2 separate regions of the Homo sapiens genome follow, and region 2 is linked to region 1. The links are contacts of gene promoters, found by promoter capture Hi-C in human tissues and cell types (Jung and others, 2019). All regions are on one chromosome and are shown on one strand. The core of a region is centred on a gene start or on the middle of the fragment in contact, and the rest is flanking DNA. Distances in the headings are between cores, read along the strand shown. Region 1 holds the start of DNAH5 (dynein axonemal heavy chain 5). Region 2 has its middle 210 kb from the start of LINC02220.

Region 1 (3,372 bases), core at 793-3,292:
CGTGCTGTCTCATCCCCCTGGCCTTTCTTCAGCAAGAATCCTGGTAGGTCGTCAGTTTAGCCAGAATCCCCCTCCCCATTGATGTCTCCTCTAAGCACTTTCCTATCCACTGACCCCTGCCCTGCTCCTTGGCTACAAATCCTCACTTGGCCATGCCATATTCACAGTTGAGCCCAATCTCTCCCATCACTCCCCAGATAGGTCCTTATACCTAACACGACGGTCGTGAATAAAGTCTTACTTTACCATGCTTTACCAAGTGTCACTGAATAATTTTTTTTCTTTAACACAGTGCACTAAGTAGAAACTGTGTAATTATTTACATAATACACTGCAATACTATTAAGGTAATTCTGTTAATATTATACTTCAGTGGAGTGAACCAAACCAGCATCCTAAATATATAATTGAAACCTCCAAAAGACTTGACTTACTCTCAAAACATAGTTCATGTCAAGGAAGAATAATTCATTAATTATACCTGAGATTTTATCATCAATTGTGGTGTTTCAGACTTGGTACTGAAGCACAGGAAAAATGTTCAGACATGTGAAATGTTTAATTCATTCAACTTATTCCACAAGCATATATTAAGGACCAAGCATATACTATGGACCAAGCTCTGTGTTAAAGGAAGATTATTTTAAAATGGAGAGAACTCGCAATCTAGCAAGAGAAAGAGACATGTGGGTAAATGTCATTTCACTACAGTGATGTGACAAGGACTCTATAAGACATCGAAGGAAAGTGCTGACAGGGTACAGGAAGGAAACTCACACCTCCTCCTCAAAGTGTCAGGGGACGCTTCTCAGAGGAGGTAACACTAGCACTTGGTCTTGAAGAATAAGCAGTGCATGGACTGGCTGGAGTCAGCTCTTCCAGAATGGTCTTCTAACTCTAGCAAGCAAGTTCAGGGGCTTGGCTGCAAGACGTTCACCTTGGGAAGGATGCATCAGAATCTTGTGGCTTGGGCAAGTGAGGGGTGGCAGATGGTGGCATACTTAAAAAATTCAGAGGTAGATGCCTGCTCTTTTGTGGTAAAAACAACAGGCTAGGGGGGATCATGTGAGCTTCTGGGGATACACAAAAAGACACAGTGATCAAGCCCAGTAGGAAGCATGGGTTAATGGTTGAGAACTGAGTCCTAGAGAAACCTCCAATTTCTTCTGACGTTAATTGGCAGTGGAAGAGGTTTCCAAATCCCTCTCTATGCATTTGCATAATAAAAAGCTGCTGAGCTGAGCCCTGTGCTAGGGAAGTTCATTCTTCAATGTGATTTCCAAAGGCACAGCCTTGCATCTCACTGTCTGTGACCTCATTTGCAGGCATATAGAACAGGGGAGTGATTTCAAAGCCTAAACCTTGCAGCCTAGAATCTGCCTTAACTATTTCTAATCACCAACTAAAGTTTACAGGTTTGAAAGAATACAAAGTGCCCAAACCACTATGAATGTGTTTTTGACCCCAGGAAAGCATCTTCCCAAAAGATGCAGCATGAATTTCTAGGTGCGTAGTTTAAGCGGCAACGTGCAGAAAAGCCTACAGATGCAAAATTTTTTTTATTTAAAAAATGAATATGTAGCCTATGCACCAGGTGAACATTAGTTAAAAAATGTGTTTCTCGCAAATTCATCAGTGTGTGACTTTGAACCTTTTTCAAGTTTGTTTTTTCCACCCAGGTGTGACAGATGATAATCCAAAACACACATGCAAAGGTACAGACAACAGCACCTTACCGTTAAAACTCGAGTGACGCTATGCTTCCAGAGCTGTCTCCTCCCAATCCTAAACATTGTAGCCGTGCATGGACAGGCTGGAGTCAGCTCTTCCGGAATGGTCTTCTAACTCCTGGCAGACCTGCTCAACATCCAACAGGCTTCCAAATGGAAAGTTTTACTTCCATTTTACTTTCACGTTTCTAATTTGCATGTATTATTCACTACATTCACAGAATAAAAATTAAAACTCCACTTATACCACTCAAGTTTTTCTCCTAGAGTGTCTGCCCTGGGCCTCTCCTCTCTCTCGAAGCCTGGTGTTGTTAGGGTAATATTGTTTATACACTATACAGTTGAACCATGCCTCTTAATCATGTTTATCAAGCAATCAAAGCATTTTAACTGCTCGGTAGCAACACAACTCCTTCTGTTGTTCAATTAATTCTATTCACTGCCCAATAATAAGCATTGAGTCAACAGTGATATCTAAATAGTTTCTTTGAACAATGAGAAACTTTAAACCATATCAGATTAGAAATCCAAGAAGCCACAGCTCTGAATATATTGTCCATGTCGAGAAACTCAGTCTTACTTTGTGTAAACAACTTTGCAAGCACGATGCACTGCCAGCATTGTGACTAATTGTGACTAATTGCCAGATAGGCTAATTGTGACCCATAGGAGCCATTTTCTCCACCACAAAGAACAAGAAGTCTGTTTCATATGCAAATAGCAAACCATGTCCATAAATTACTTGTGCTCACACAGTTGCACATACACTTCAGCCAAGGTAATTTATCCTATGTGGCTAAACATCTTGATCATCTTAACTGTGAAGATGTAATGGGAAAACACTGCCAAATGCTTTGAGAGATCTCTCATGTATGGTTTCTCCCATCGAGTTGAATAAAAGGCAGGACACTTAAGGTTGGTCTTGTTGAATCTAGAATTTAGTCCTTGGAATTCACAGTCCAGCAACTCAAATCCTAAAAGGTCATCCAAGGATAATCAGGAAATTGGGAACTCATCCTGGTAACATCCTGCTAGTCAACCTCTGTGGAGCCTGACTTGGAAGGCAGGGTGCTGACATGGTTTCAGAACATGGAGATTCACTTGGTCCATATCCAATGCTAGGGCACGGACGGCCTCCATATGTCAGGTTAACAGACAACATTTAGACCTCAATATTATTTGGTAAGTAAATAACTAGAACACAGGAAGTTTAAGTTTGTTTGCAGGATTTTTTTTTTCTTTTTTGAGACCTGCAGGTCTCACTCTGTCACACAGGCTGGAGTGCAGTTGCGTGACCACCACTCACCACAGCCTCAACCTCCCAGGCTCAGGTGATCCTCCCACCTCAGCCTTCCTAGTAACTGGGACTACAGGCAAGTGTCACAACACGCGGCTAATTTTTGTATTTTTTGTAGAAACAGGTTTGGCCACATTGCCCAGGCTGGTCTCAAACTCCTGGCCTCAAGCAATTGCCCACCTCGGCCTCCCAAAGTGCTGGGATTATACGCATGAGCCACCAGGCCAGGCCCTGCAGGATATTTGTTGAAGTCAACCTCTGGTTGTTGGTAAGCGGCTGTTGTCCGTTTCTAATAAAAAGTGTTGAAGACAGTATCTAGACTCTGAGTCCCTTCTCTGTGTGGTG
Region 2 (3,329 bases), core at 342-2,841, 700 kb before region 1:
CCCCCAGCAGTGCCGGCCTGCCACCGCTGCGCTCAAATTCTCACAGGGCCTCAGCTACCTCCCTGTGGGGCAGGGCTTAGGACCTGCAGCCCGCCATGCCCAAGCCTCCCCCAGCCATGGGCTCCTGCACAGCCCAAGCCTCCCCGACAAGCGCCACCCTCTGCTCTGAGGCGCCTGGTCCCATCAACCGCCCAAGGGCTGAGGAGTGCGGGCGCACGGCACAGGACTGGCAGGCAGCTCCGCCTGCAGCCCCAGCGTGGGATCCACTAGGTGAAGTGAGCTGGGCTCCGGAGTCTAGTGGGGACTTGGAGAACCTTTATGTCTAGCTAAGGGATTGTAAATACACCAATCAGCACTCTGTGTCTAGCTCAAGGTTTGTAAATGCACCAATCAGTGCTCTGTGTCTAGCTAATCTAGTGGCAACTTGGAGAACCTTTATGTCTAGCTAAGGGATTGCAAATACACCAATCAGCACTCTGCGTCTGGCTCAAGGTTTGTAAATGCACCAATCAGCACACTGTATCTAGCTAATCTGATGGGGACTTGGAGAACCTTTATGCCTAGCTAAGGGATTGTAAATACACCAATCAGCACTGTGTGTCTAGCTCAAGGTTTGTAAATGCACCAATCAGTGCTCTGTGTGGACTTGGAGAACTTTTGTGTCTAGCTCAGGGATTGTAAATACACCAATCAGCACTCTGTCTCTGGCTCAAGGTTTGTAAATGCACCAATCAGCACTCTGTACCTAGCTAATCTGGTGGGGACTTGGAAAACCTTTATGTCTAGCTAAGGGATTGTAAATACACCAATCAAAACTCTGTGTCTAGCTCAAGGTTTGTAAATGCACCAATCAGTGCTCTGTGCGGACTTGGAGAACTTTTGTGTCTAGCTCAGGGATTGTAAATGCGCCAACCAGCACCCTGTCAAAATAGACCAAACAGCTCTCTGTAAAACAGACCAATCAGCTCTCTGTAAAATAGACCAATCAGCAGGATGTGGGTGGGGCCAGATAAGGGAACAAAAGCAGGCTGCCTGAGCCAGCAGTGGCAACCTGCTCGGGTCCCCTTCCACAGTGTGGAAGCTTTGTTGTTTCACTCTTTGCAATAAATCTTGCTGCTGCTCACTCTTTGGGTCCCCACTGCCTTTATGAGCTGTAACAGTCACTGTGAAGGTCTGCAGCTTCACTCCTGAGGCCAGCGAGACCACGAACCCACTGGGAGGAATGAACAACTCCAGACGGGAGGAACGAACAACTCCAGATGTGCCACCTTAAGAGCTGTAACACTCACTGCTAAGGTCTGCAGCTTCACTCGTGAAGCCAGCAAGACCACGAACCCACCAGAAGGAAGAAACTTGGAACACATCCAAACATCAGAAGGAACAAACTCTGGACATACTGCCTTTAAGAACTGTCACACTCACTGCGAGGGTCCGCGGCTTCATTCTTGAAGTCAGTGAGACCAAGAACCCACCAATTCCGGACACAGTACTACTGATTCCTCAGAGAACAAGCCCTAAATCCCCAAAACTGTGCAATTTAGAATTCTATAACTGAATTATAGTACTCTTGATTAAAAAGAGAAAATATCTAACAATTTTTCTCTTGCCTTCTCCTGAAAATATTTTTTAATATTAACTTCTTCATGCTTTGATTTCCAGCATTTCACCATAGAATACCTCCAGGGTGAGAGCTATTTTGCATTTTTAGAGGCCTCCTTAACCTTTTCTCTGTGGCATTTGAGGAATTCTGACTGCAGTGATCACACAGGGCAAGCAGTAAGGGAAAGCAAGGGCAGTCCTGCCTTTGTCTCTTATTTGTTGCAGTCTTTAAGGATGAGAGGGAGAAAAGGGCTCTCTGATTAATTTCATGCCTTCAAGTTTCTGCAATCCCATGACATATTGGCGTTCTTTCCTTTTACGATTGCGACTTTGCTCTTGTACTTCTTTGCACACTCCTGCAATGGAAAGCTAACCTTTATGCTTTTACAGCCTGATGTGGCTCGGAGTCAAAGCGAAGTTGACAATCAAAGGCTAGGATGGCATTTGAAAGGAAGACCTTACCAATGGGGCTCACAGTAGGAGCTCTCTAAAGCCCGTAAGTGTACCTTTTGAAACCAGTCTTTTCTGCATATCATTTGTGACTAAAATACTAATACTGTTAGTGTTCAAATTTTATTCCAATTCTCTTTAGACTATGCACGCTGCCATTCTCCGTGTTCACAGACCTGATGTTCAGATCACTGGACAAAGTACTGGGCGTTTATTCTGATTTTATAACCGCTCAATTTCCTTTAGGGTTATTTTACTCATTGATGTGTATTACACAGCCACAAGGTGATTACCCATAATGCATTTTCCTGCTTAAACATACTGACAGTAAGACTAGAGATTATAATGTATTCTACTTCTCTGTGGAGATGACAATGCCAACCCTTAACCTCTGGGACTTTTAGATACGTGGCAGAGATTTGGTTTGTTTGTTTTGCAGTGCACTCATCTCCTCTCTATCTTCCTCTCACCATCAAGTGCACATGTTAGAATGAAGTCACAATATTCAACACTACTTTTATTGGCTTCATACACAGTAATACCAAATCTATTGTAAATCTTTTTGAGGGGGAGGAAAGATGGGCAGAAATAGGATGTAAGACAAACAGAAGTGTGGTTATAGGAGGGCACGATTTTCTCTTTCTTTCTTTATAAGAAAAGGTACTGTTGAGACAGAAAAAAAGGAGAGTTGGCTAGGCTTGGTGGCTCATGCCTGTAATCCCAGCACTTGGGGAGGCCAAGGCAGGAGGACTGCTTCAGCTCAGAATTTTGAAACCAGCCTGGGCAACATTTATGTAAAAAATTTAAAAAAAAATAGCCAGGTGTAATAGCATGTGCTATTACGTTCCCAGCTACTTGGGAGGCTGAGGTGGGAGAATCACTTGAGCCTGGGAGACCAAGGCTGCAGTGAGCTGTGATTGTGCCACTCTACTCCAGCCTTGGCTGGAGCAAGACTGTGTCTTAAAAAAAAAAAAGAGTTATTGCTAATTTAATATCATATTATCTTTATGCTACTGGAAGGGCCATCATTATCATTGCCTATGCTCCACAGTAAAAAATATATATATGATTAACCAAAAGATTTAAGCTTTAAGGAGGAATATTTTTCTCTAGTTTCTGCCTCTCTGAAGGAATTGTGGAGAGCCCAGACCTGCATGCTTTCTTAAGCCAGGAGCTGAGGGCAGAGGGTAAAGCAAAGTGGGAGAAAGTTATCTAGCAAATCCAACATGAGGAGATAAAACACTGACAAAAAAAAGGTATCACTATAGAAAATAACTCTG

The links. Contacts are between HindIII fragments. The study calls those that stand out against the background at their distance.
Region 2: a fragment that was not itself captured here is called in contact with the fragment with the promoter of DNAH5 in region 1 in 1 of the 25 tissues and cell types used here (lymphoblastoid cells).

The regions. Positions count from the first base shown.
Region 1 is chr5:13,942,646-13,946,017 of GRCh38, forward strand. It overlaps DNAH5 (dynein axonemal heavy chain 5), which reads right to left and starts at 2,043. Exons shown (of 79, transcript NM_001369.3): 1 at 1,737-2,043. The coding sequence starts at 1,793. The HindIII fragment of the contact is 17,200 bases long and covers 1-3,372 here.
Region 2 is chr5:13,244,361-13,247,689 of GRCh38, forward strand. No RefSeq gene overlaps it. Among named protein-coding and RNA genes, the nearest start is that of LINC02220, 210 kb to the left of the region's middle. The HindIII fragment of the contact is 4,832 bases long and covers 1-3,329 here.